Regions from separate parts of the Homo sapiens genome. Here region 2 is linked to region 1. Evidence: promoter capture Hi-C in human tissues and cell types (Jung and others, 2019). All regions are on one chromosome and are shown on one strand. Each heading gives the region's core, a stretch centred on a gene start or on the middle of the fragment in contact. The rest is flanking DNA. Distances are from core to core; before and after follow the strand shown.

Region 1 (6,702 bases), core at 2,284-4,783:
GTTTCAAAGTGAAAGTAATAAAAGATGAGAGAGTCTGCTAGGGTAGTCAATAAGGAGTAACCTCCAAGGCCCCATAAATACTGCATTTACATAAAACACTCATTTAGATAACATACTGTAAACTCATATATAGTGACTACGTGTACCATCTTCATAATTTTGGCATATTTTATTATACACAATAGACTAAACAATAGACAACATTTCCTGATAGCTTTCTGTGTGCTAAACACTCTTCCAAGTGCTTTCATGTGTATAACATAATTTAATCTTTATATTCTCATCTCTACTTCACACATGAAGAAATTAAAGCTTGGAGAGATTAAATAATTTATGTCCAGATTATCTGATCCTGAGGTCTGTGTTGTTCACCACTGTGCTAGAGTATCACCTGTACGGTGATACAATTATTACCTAATATTCTTCCTCAATTAACTATTTTTTGTTAGCTTCACCCAAAGTAATAATATCCATGAAATTTCGGTGTTTTTTAAATTAAAATTTTAATGTTGAGATCATTATAGTTTCACATGCAATTGTAAGAAATACAGGGAGGGGGCCAGGCGCGGTGGCTTACGCCTGTAATCCCAGCACTTTGGGAGGCCGAAGCAGGCGGATCACGAGGTCAGGAGATCGAGACCATCCTGGCTAACACGGTGAAACCCTGTCTCTACTAAAAACACAAAACATTAGTTAGGCGTGGTGGCGGGCGCCTGTAGTCCCAGCTACTTGGGAGGCTGAGGCAGGAGAATGTTGTGAACCCGGGAGGCAGAGCTTGCAGTGAGCCGAGATCGCGCCACTGCAATCCAGCCTGGGCGACAGAGCGAGACTCTGTCTCAAAAAAACAAAAAAAAAAGAAAGAAATACAGGGAGATTCTGTGTGCTCTTTACCTAGTTTCCCCAAATGATGACATCTTGCAAAACTATATTTTCACAACCAGCATATTGACACTGAAACAGTCAGAATACAGAACATTTCCAGTAACACCAGGATCCCTCATGTTTTATAGCCACATCCACTATCCACTGGTCCCCCCTTTCTTAAACCGGCATCTACGAATCTGTCTTCTGTTTGCGTAATTCTCGTCCTTTCAAGAATGTTATGTAAATGGAAATATACATCATGTAATTTTTTGAGATATGCTTTTTTTCACTCAGCATAATTCTTTGGGCATTCATCCAGATTTTGTGTATTAATTGTTCATATCTTTTTATTGCTGAGTAATAGTCCATGATGTGAATGTACCACACTTTGTTTAACTATTCACTGATTGAAGGATACTTGGGTTGTTTCCAGTTTGGGGCTATTATGAATAAAGCTGCTATAAACATTTATCTATAGGTTTTGTATGAACATAAGTTTTCATTTCTCTGGGTGAAATCCCAGGTTTTATATTATGCTATTACGTTGTATTAAATATATAACATATATTTCTAATATGGATTAAAACAAATTTATAACCATTAACAATGTTCTTCATATATTACCTAAAATATCTCATGTACCATCAGTAGCATATGTACTACTCTCCAGGAAAACACTGTTCTAAACAGAACCCAAATCATTCAGCCTTTTTCTGTAATTATATATGGGAAGTGGTTCAGTGACAGCCTAGACACTGGAGTTGAATGGTATTGGTTTAACTCAGGACAATTCCTAACTCTGTGACCTTGGGCATGTCATGTAACCTCTATAAGCTTTGGTCTTCTCATTTGAAAATGGGCATAATCTTTTCAGAATTATGAAAATAAAAGGAAATAATTCATGTGTTTGGAACCTTAAAAAGCATTCCATAAATGATACTTTTTATTACCATGTGGATCAGAACAGTGGGGAAAAGCCATTAACTTATGGGGAAAATCCATTAACTTAAAAGGCAAGCAGGGAGCCCACACTAGAGGGCAAAATAAGGGAGAAGCTAGCAGCCTCCCTTCTGGGACCAAGGGCAGGGTTCTGCAAAATGTACATATATGACTTCTAGGGGGTGCTATTCAATTTCATCCTTAGACTTGTGTATAGTTATTATAATGATTTTCTGGCAGATGGCAGTAAAATGTCCTGAGGAGGGAGCACCATTTCCTAATTCACCCAGAGATAACTTATGGGTAGGATTAATCTCCCGTAGACCCCTCTGAGACTCCTTTAATAATAATTTAATTTTTAAGTGATTCTACTACTATAAACATGTACACACATACACATACTGTGACACAGAACAATGCAAATACAGTTTCAGGAGATTCAGGAATTTTGAAGACCACCCATGTTAAAAGCCCAGTTCTAAGTGGTCTCAGAATCTCTAGAAGGTGTTTCCCATTCCCATCCTCCCCACTCTCATCCCCAATCTATCTAGAACATAATTAACAAAGGTGATTTAGCTCCAGAGCCTAGGAACACACTGCTGCAATTTCTGATATGAGCAGAACCCTCCCCTTCTTAAGTTTTTAAATATTTTTGTGTTGGTACTGAATTTATTTGGTTGTATTGCTTCCCCCGGAGTGCCTACTTTTCATTGAAAGTGGAAATCTCTGCAGTATTTTATTTTGTCCATGGAAGTTCACAAGCTTGGTCTTTGATGCTTCCAGGACTCATTAAAACACCTCACTTCTACATGTCTGAACTATAGCCCATGGACCTGGTAAGAGAGAAGCCCAAAGAAATTGGAAAATAAATCACCACACTGACTTTCCAAATTAAAATATATTATATTTTGGATGTTTCATACCTGTCTATATGGTTTTGTCATTGGCAAAAAAATAGCAAGTCTAAGGCAGTTTTAACGTTACATTAAACAATGTGTCCATAGTGAAATGTGATTAGTACATATTTCAGCAGCCCAAATTGCTGGGATAGGAGAAAGAAAGCACTGATCGTGGACCTATTTCGAAGAATGCACTAATGACTTTTCAAAATAATAGTATTTTCACGGGATGTGAGATGTCCAAAATTCTGATGCTGAAATATCAACATAGGATCAGAACTTATTTTAGTCTCCTATGCCACATTGAAACTTAATTTCGAGTGGAAAGGAAAGGTTTTCCCTGTTACAATTAAGATGTTTCTGATCATAAAATGAAGCTTACATTGTCACACTAGATTTCTTGATCCAACGCAGTACCCTCCCCGCCAATCCATCCAGAGTCCTCATTCCTAAATGCAATGCTTAAAAGGACATGCCACTATGCCAAACCCAAAGACTCTCATTTGACAGAAAAGGAAATGAATCTCTGTTACCTTTCTATCCCCTTCCTTTTGAATGAGCCATTTTTCTTCTTGAGTTGCTGGAATCTTCGGCACTGTCCAACTTTTCTGTAGGCAATCTTAAAGGGTTCTGGTAGATACAGCTGAGGTTGGGCCATTGCTCTCAACTTCACCTGTAGTAGCCGTTTTGGATTGTTTTAGTTCTTGAACTTACAGACTTCAATACAAAATCATCCAGTGACTGAATGTACTGTCAAGGTGTGGGCTATTCGGAATAAAATATGTAGGAAATTTTTAGAGTCTTTCCCTTATTCCCTTCCAGGTGTTAGAGACATTATTTGTGGGACTGGCCCTGTTTACAACTTCACAGAGGTCACCAGTGATGTATTTGACAGAGCTGTGTGAAATTCCATGGACCTTTGTGGAACACTTCACAGATTCTTGAACAAGGCAAATACAGAAATGATGATCTGATTGCCTCAATGCTGGCATTTGGATAGAAAAAAAAAATCAAACAACAACAACAACAACAAAAAACACCCACACACTAATTGACCACCACATTCAGAAGTGCGTATTTGAACTCTGAAGTGGTAGGGACCTATAGGAATACCAACGATACGCTGATTAACACAAGTTGAGCTTCTGTTAGATCTCTCAGTTACAGCTGGTGAATGTTCTCTGTGTCCTGTGGGACACATATGACAAGGCCAGTTGTTGTTTGGACATCTCAAAATGTACCCCAAGGGTGGTTTTCATTACATCTTGGAATTTTGCAGTGGTCTCTCAAAGTACATTGCTAAATTGAGGACCTGATCCACCCCTCCCTTCCAACATTGCCCCATTTATTTCGTGGTGAAGAGCGAATTCTGCCTGTGATGGAACTTCTCACCACAAGGTGGCAGCAGACACTAGGATTTATTCCTGTTACCCTCTCGCGGTTTGAGTTGTTCAGTCAAATAACTAGATGCTTAACAAGAAAAACTCCTCTAGAAAGGTTCTGGGAGTTACAAGAATTACTCTGCTTTCTGTGTTTGCATTAATCAATAATCTGGAGCATACTTCTCAAGCTTTCAAGTGCACACAAACTTCCTGGAGGTCTTTTTAAGATGCAGATTTCGATACAGTACATCTGGGCTGGGATCCAAGAATTTGCACTCCTAACAAACCCGCAGGTGACGCTGATGATGCCAGACTGCACTTGGAGTAGTGAGGGTCTTGTATGTTTCAGTACTGGGGAAAAGAGCTTTAAAATGGTCTAGAATGAAGTGTATAATGTTAAGGGGCTAAGAGAGTGGATTTGGGAATTATGCATGAGTTCTCATTTCTAGCTTAGCTATGTGACCTTGGCCAATTCATTTTAACCCACCCATGCTTGTTTTCTCATCCCTAAAGTGGGACAACTCATAGTGCCCAAGCCATAGTTTTATGGCAAAATTCAAGTGAAATAGAAATTCCGCTTCAGCAGGGAATGAGACCCAGGAATCCATATTCTAGGAGAGTGGGTGCAGATGTTCCTCTGTCCCTTATTTGAGAAACGCTGAAGTAGAGCATATCTAATATGCCTTGGCCAAATGGACATATGCTCCTCCCTGGTCTGTTTTTCCTCATCTGTTGGCATCCTCAGAGCACAATAAATAATAGGTGCTTGAATAAATGAATACATGAATATTTTCTTTAGCAACAGGGCAATATTTTTCATGCAATTATTGGCACTCCTGCCTTAATTCTGTTGTATTTCATCAATTATCTAGATGAATGAGATGAATTTTATGCTAGGAAAGACAGCTGTTTTTTATTTGTGCATGGGTGTCTATGTACATGTCTCTGTGTGTGCATGTCTGCATGTATGTGTGTATGTAATAGGCTGAAACACTTGCTGCTGTGGCATCTGTGACAAAACTTGTAGGTTCCCAAAGGAGTCCTGAAGCAGATGACAGAACTAGAAGGAGTGGGAAGGGGGTGGGGAAAGAGTTAGAGTATAGAGAGACATCAATTTTGAGCTGTGTCTGGATTTACATTCTAGATCTACCCCTTCCAAGCTTATGGGTCCTTGGGCGGGTAACGAAAACCTCTTTGGACCTTCATTTTCTCGTTCGTAAAACAGGAGTAATAACTGCTACCTCCCAAGCTTCTTTGAGTCATTCAGTTATTTAACAAATATTTGAATGCCTAGTGGTTCCCAGGCACCACCCTAGACACCACCCTAGACACCAGGGATACTGCAGTGAACAACATACACAAAATCTCTGAACTCATATAACTTAATATGCTGTGGGAGATGCAGGTAACAAGGAAATGAACATTTTAATTTCAGCTGGTAGTAAATGTTATGAAAAAAGTAAAAGAGGATGATGGGATAGAGTGACTGAGGATGAGGAGTGACTTTAGATGGAGCGTTAGGAAAGCCTGTCCAATGAGGTCATTGGTCCTGAATGCTGAACGGGGAAAAGAGCCAATCGTGTGAAAATTTGTGTGACCCAGGCAGATGAAACAGCATGTGCCAAAGCCCGGAGGTGGAAGAAGCCCAGTGTCTTTGAAAATGTGGAAGAAAGCGGTCAGGTGCGATGGCTCACGCCTGTAATCCCAGCACTTTGGGAGGCCGAGGTGGGTGGATCACGAGAGCAGGAGATCGAGAACATCCTGCCTAACGTGGTGAAACCCCCATCTCTACTAAAAATACAAAAAAATTAGCCGGGCGTGGTAACGGGTGCCTGTAGTCCCAGCTACTCAGGAGGTTGAGGCAGGAGAATGGCGTGAACACGGGAGGCAGAGCTTGCAGTGAGCCGAGATCGCGCCACTGCACTCCAGCCTGGGCGACAGAGCAAGATTCTGTCTCACAAAAAAAAAAAAAAAAAAAGAAAAGAAAAGAAAATGTGGAAGAAAGCTAGGGTGGCTGGAGCAAAGAGGTAGATGTGTGTGATAAGCTGGAGGGAGGACCAAATCTCTTGAGTCCTATAGATCAAATTAAAGGTTTTGGTCTTGATCTTCAGAGCAATGGGGAGTTGTTGAGGTTTTTTTGGTTTGTTTGTTGTTGTTGTTGTTGTTTAAACAGCATCTTACTCTGTCACCCAGGCTGGAGTGCAGTGGCACCACGCTCACTGCAACCTCTACCTTCTGGGTTCAAGCGATTCTTGTGCCTCCTGAGTAGCTGGGGTTACAGGCACGTGCCACCACGCCCAGCTAATTTTTTGTATTTTTAGTAGAGACGAGGTTTCACCGTGTTGCTCAGGCTGGTCTGGAACTCCTGAGCTCAGGTGATCCACCTGCCTCAGCCTCCCAAAGTGCTGGGATTACAGCCTTACTGAGGGTTTTTAGGGAACTTGTTCATATATTTATTCAGGGAAATGGAATTCAGTTGTGAAGAAAATGACTAAAATCCTTGCCCAGGAATTACAATTCTAGTGGAGGACACAGACACCAATATGTTAACCAATAGAAAATTGTTTCAGGTACTGACAAAGTATGCTATGAGACAAATAGAAAAAAAAAAACAAAAT
Region 2 (6,280 bases), core at 115-2,614, 570 kb after region 1:
AGGTGATCTGCCCTCCTCAGCCACCCAACGTGCTAAGATTACAGGCATGAGCCCCTGTGCCCAGCCTGAATGGAACCATTCTTATCTGCATATATAAATTCTGGTGATTTGCTCAGTGTCCATTAACTGCATGCATGACCATATGCTAGGGGGTATGAAAACGCAGGATTTTGTGCAGCTTTTCAAATCATGCCTCCTTGTTCTGTTATCAGCACATTTTTAGAAATGTTTTCTGTACCTTTGTGGTGAGAGAAGTTGCATGTCCACGCTTACAGGAATGATGAAGGAAAGTTTTCCTTAAAGGCGCAGTGTAACACTCTTTGTAACTGAAAAAAGAAAACGAAATTAATTCTCTCTGGCAGATTTATGCTACAGCCAAAAAATATTTAAGACACAATGTTTTCATCCTTTATTCTGAAATTATAGAAATAAATGCTTCATAAATGGAATTCAAATTCAATGTAATGGATCACTAAACATGATGTAAAGACAAGAAGGATATTTTATTATGTATTATAAAAGGAATACGTGATTTTAGTTTATAAGAAACCTTTATAAAATAATATGAAATGAAACATCTCAGTCTCTAGAGAAATTCACAGTTGACTGTGTCATTCATATCCTTGAAACATTTAGAACACATAGCATTTTTCTGCAAATAGAATACACATTATTCAAATTGTTCTTCACCTTGTCTTTTTTAATTTAAAATTTATCTTGCAGATCTTTTATATCAGAGTATATTTACTTGCCTCTTTATTTTTAATAGATACATAATACTCCATGGTACCCCCATACCATGGAGTATTATGTATCTATTAAATTGATAGAGACTATCTCATTTCACTAACTCAAGTATGGAAGACATTTAATTGCCTTTATTTTTCTTTTACTCAACCTGATTTTATCTTAGGATTCTATTCTCCTGAGTAGTCAAAACGTGATCTGTGTGAGTTCAGGGTTTTCCTTCATGGCATTTGTCTGAGTTACCTGAGGTTTATATAGAACAGAGGGTATAGGGCATGAGTATGGCATCTTCTCCTTGGTTGTTGTCTTTCCAAGCAGACGGATGCAGAGGTGTGTATTGTCCTATCTGGTCCTCGGTCACTGATTACGTAGATCTTTGCTGATCATCCCGGGATCGCATTTCAGTCCTGTCAGAACCTGCAGATCTCTTTGATATGTCTACGTTGCTCTCAGACACAGGGAATTACTCTGCCATGCTGGATTTGGGGGAAATCTTGCAAGCTCTGTCAGATTTTAGTTACACCACACAGCTCTTCCTACTCTATTCTTTCAGCATTATGTCAGGACACTGCCAAAATTGTGGATCTTGTCATTTTCCAGGCAAAAACAAGAAGCAAGTTTTCTTTTCTCTCAGACTTCATTACCTCCCACTCTTGAACCCCTGAATTCAGTCTTAAATTGAAGGCTCCTTTCTGGGGCACATATATGCTTTCCTTCTAACTCCTCTTCTCCCAACCCAGGGATTTTTTTTTTGATACCAGGATTATTTTTTTATTTAGCAATATGTCTTAGAGACTTTTTCGTGGCAGGACAATAAATCTGTCCCCATCTTTTGGGCAGCTGCTTAATATTCTATTGTGTGGAATTTCATGCATATTTATTTCTTCTTTCGTCCTTCAATTTCCTTGTTTTATTTTTGCTTTCTTTAATTTTTTTCTCTGAACGAAACAATATAGATGCAGAAAATGTACCCAGTAGTACAAAGTTCAAAATATGTGAAATAAAAAGTAAATTTTTCCTTTCTGTCCCACTCCCCAGAGACCACAACTTTTAACAGTTTCTTATTTTTGTTCTTTTGGTGGTTTCTATTGTAATTTTAAGTGTTATGCTTCTATTTACTTTTAAGTCTTTATCAAAATACTAGTTTCCATAGCTAAAAAAAAGAAAACAGCCAAAAAAATACTTATAATGAGTAACATTAATTTAATGGGTCCATAGGATGGATCAGAAGCTTAAACACATGCTCAGCACATCATCTTGAACCAAAAGTCTGAGTAGGCAGGTTGACATCATGGTTAACGTGAACTCTACAGGCAGTCTGAGTTGTAATTCTGGCTCTGTCACTTTCTGACTGTGCAGTCTTGGTCTCTGTGAGACTCATTTTCCTCATCTTTAAATTTAAGCTAAAATCATACCTAGCTTATAGAGTTTTCCTCAATTAAAGAAAATGTTTTGTGTAAAATACACCAAAATTTGGATTCCACTTATGGCACCTACTAACCACATGTTGACCATGTCACCTTAGACTTGTTCTCAGACATCATTAAAACTGGGACTCGTAAGAGCTCTCTCCCAAAAAGTTGTGTGAGGATTCCCTTAATGAAATATGGATATGTAAAAGTGCCTGGTATATAGCAGGCACTTCAGAAAGGCTAGTTTCTATTTTTCAGTCCTGTTAGGAATGAATAATTGCCCCAGGCGTGGAGATCTTGGATAATTTTATTTTTATTTTATTTTATTTTATTTATTTTCCTTGTATTTTTAGTTGACATGTAATAATTGTACATATGCATGAGATACTGACTGGTATTTTGATACATGTATATCAAACCAGAGCAATTAGCATATCCATTACCTCAAACATTTACAATTCCTTTGTGGTCTGAACATTCATAATTCTTTCTTCCAGCTTTTTTGAAAATATACAATGATTTATGGTTAGCCATATTTATCCTACAATGCTATAGAACCCTAGAACCTATTCCTCCCAGCTATATGTAATTTTGTATCTGTTAACTAACTTCTCCCTATTCTCCCCTCTTCCTTACCCTTCTGGGCCAGGGAATTTTTAATCCATGGTTGCAGGTAGGTAAGTTTCTCTTATTCACTGTTCAAGCTTCCAAATATTTTCTTGATGTCAGAGTCTAGGCTTTTGGAACTCAAAAGCCAGACATTCTCTATTTATGTGTTATTTGCATTCTGCTGTGTCATTCATCCCCCAAAGCAAGGCATGCAATCAATATACCAGCTGAAAAAAATTCAAGCAAAAAATAAAAAAGCTGACATTACAGAATGTTACCTTATTACACGTATATATGTCCTATTTATGATTCCCTACAGGAAGTCACTTATGTTGTTTCCATTTTTGTTGTAATTATTTTTCCATAAGTTATTGGGGTACAGGTGGTATTTGGTTACATGAGTAAGTTCTTCAGAGGTGATCTGTGAGATTTTGTTGTGCCCATCACCCGAGCAGTGTACACTGCACATATCTGTAGTCTTTTATCCCTCGCCCCCTCCCACTCTTTCTTCTAATTCCCCAAAGTCCATTGTATTATTCTTATACCTTTGCATCCTCATAGCTTAGCTCCAATTAACATCCTTGCCCACATAGCTTAAGAATTTATGTAAGAATATAGACAATAAAAATCCTAGCATTGGAATTCCTGGGACAAAGGGTAAGTGTTTTTAAAATATTGATGAATATCACCACATCTCCCCTTCAAAAAGACTACACTATCGCAATCTTGTATAGAAGTGCCTGTCTCTCCATAGCTTCATTTTCTAGGGTTTATCACATATTTAAACTTCTTTCACTCTGATAGCTGAAAATATGATCTCTTGGTTTTCTGATTTTCCATGTCTTTAGTTATACGAGTGATTGAACATATTCTCACAGATATTCTGGCCTTTTGCGTCTTACATTCCCTGAACTCCTTACTGATGTGCAAAATGTTTTGTTACATAATCTTAAAGTGCATTAAATAGAATTTTAAAAATCATATATTTATTTACTTTTGTTTGGGAAGGCAAATTACACAGAATTTAAGGCAACTACTTCCCAGTTTCTCCTTCATTTGACAGCAACTGAATATTATATAGGGATAGGTAAAAAAAACAAAACTGAGGATGAAAAACTGAGTCACTAACACAGAGCTAACAATTATGCGTTGACAATGTTATCATATCTTCACACTGCAAATGCAGAGCTAATTCTCATCAAAATGGGATTTGTTCTAATACTCACATGATAGCAGCCATGAGAGACAGCTAACGTAATCAGTGAATGTCCCTTGAGCATGTGTAATTATGCCAAGATTCCAATAACTAATTAGCACAATGGATTTTGGTTTCAATTCAAATGTTGCAGAGCATCTATTTCACATATCTTATGTTGTCACTGTCTCAAACAGTTTCCACAACAATCGATAGAACTCCACAAAGAGAAGCTAAAAGAACACACATATAAACTTCAGAATGAACAAATGAGTACTGATTACCAACTGCATGATTAATTTTTTCTCAACACCTCGATTCTGTAGCATCTAAAATATCTGATTTCTCACTCTTTCAACCTTCTCTGTGTCCATTTATTATATTTTGTAATTCATACTTATGCATCTCTTACCCAAATTAGCATACTGTCTTCCAGCTAGAAGGCACCTTAAAATCTGAGAAACACTTAGGTTCCCTGCAACCACCACACTTCACCCGTATCTTCATCACAATTGCTACCATGTCCTGAAGCCATACCAAGTGCCAGGCAATACTGCGAGGTATTTATTGCAAGTCCTATTTTATAAATGGAGCCTCATGTTCAGAGAGGTTAAAAAAACTTGCCCAAAGTCAGCATTTGGTAAGTTGCAGAATCAGCATTAACAGGTTTTGGGGGTCTGATGAATTCTGCAGGGAACAAGGAGGGAGTTTTTAATACAAGCTGTGGCATTTCTTGGAACAGACCTTTCTGGAACTGCTACTTAATAGCTCTCAATCCCAAGGCCCCTCTGTGCATCACCTTTCCCCTGGGCAGTTAGGTATCCCTTCAGTGCTCTGGCCAGCTCTGTTTAATCCTACTTACATTGTAAGGTGGGTGAGGCAGCTTGTGTTAAATAATTCAAACACCAAGGAAGACACCATATGAGGCATCACCTGGGTTCCTGATTCTCTGCCCCATGTTTTGGCCACATTCTCTTCATGATGGAAATGGCCCTAGATGGACTCCTTTCTCTGCAGCTGCTCCTTCTTCGTCAGAAACTGCACTTCCCAGTGTTCTGACCCTTCACCTCACGGTATTTAGGCTGACTCGCTGAGAGAGCGGGTAAAATGCCTTTCCCTTAAGAGGCAGAAAGGGAAGAAATGAGGTTTGGGAAAGAAGGATTGGAAGGAGAATTAATCCAGTGGAAACAGACCAGTGGTCATCCAAGTGTTAGAGCTGGATGACGGAGCCCTTTGAAAATATCTCAAGCCAACAATTTGGGGAAAGCAACACTCTCAGGTATACATACACTGGGCGACCTTTTGGGATAGTGCCTTGCCCAGCTCAGCACACTCCATAGGCAGAGACGCCCTAACCACTGAACTTTATGCTTCATAATTCAGCTCTAAGCAAGCCTGATAGTTGAGTTCTTCCTTATCCTTACCAGAAGTAAGTCTAAAATTTCACCCAGGGATTTTAAAACATGGGGAGTAGCTGTCATCCTACTTGGAGGCTTTAGATTGAACATCCCTGATTTTATTTAATTTCCTAATTTGCAAAACCTAAGGTTCATAGAGGAAAAGCAAGTTGTGCAGGACCAGACAGGAAAAAAAAAACATTTCTTATGTAATAATAGTCAAATAGTATTTAGAAGACTGAATTTGGATCCATTTTAACATTAATGATCTATTTTATGTCTAAATGTTGCAGAAAATTTGTTTCTTAGAGAGGCATTTTTCCCCTAAAAATAGCTAACATTTATTGAACTCAGCACAATGTCAGGTATTATGCTAAACTTTTTTTTTTCCAACTTCTAAGTTCAGGGGTACATGTGCAGGATGTGTAGTTTTGCTACATAGGTAAACATGTGCCATGGTGATTTGCTGCACAGATCATCCCATCACCCAAGTATGAAGCCCATATGCTAAACTTTTTGCCTATACTATGTCATTTAATGTTTACGATAATGCTGGGAAGAAGAAAATTGTATAAATCAATATTGTGTAGGTGATAAAATAAAGGCTCAGAGATTACAAATCATTTGTAAATTGGTAATATATAAAATCTTATCCAAGTTTTGAATTCCAAAGCTCAAGCAAGTTCTCAACTACTGTGACATCCTGAGGCCCCGTACAGCATTTCAAGTATTTACAGCAAATAAAGGGCCCTGCTTCAGAGGGTTTGCATATGCTATTCCTTCCACCTGGAATGCTCTTCCTCCAAATACCTACAAGGTTTAAACTCTCACTTCAGGTCTGTGCTCAAATGTCACTTTATCAATGAGAACTTTTCTGACCACTTGGTATAAAATACCTACCCCCTGCATCTAGATTAGGA

Evidence for each region. Contacts are between HindIII fragments. The study calls those that stand out against the background at their distance.
Region 2: a fragment that was not itself captured here is called in contact with the fragment with the promoter of C3orf49 in region 1 in 1 of the 25 tissues and cell types used here (dorsolateral prefrontal cortex).

Annotation. Positions count from the first base shown.
Region 1 is chr3:63,816,130-63,822,831 of GRCh38, reverse strand. C3orf49 (chromosome 3 open reading frame 49) reads right to left here and starts at 3,533. Exons shown (of 7, transcript NM_001355236.2): 1 at 3,236-3,533. The coding sequence starts at 3,360. RefSeq lists a silencer at 4,067-4,186. The HindIII fragment of the contact is 1,936 bases long and covers 2,823-4,758 here.
Region 2 is chr3:63,246,545-63,252,824 of GRCh38, reverse strand. It overlaps a transcript of SYNPR not described here. Among named protein-coding and RNA genes, the nearest start is that of SYNPR, 29 kb to the left of the region's middle. The HindIII fragment of the contact is 7,290 bases long and covers 1-5,009 here.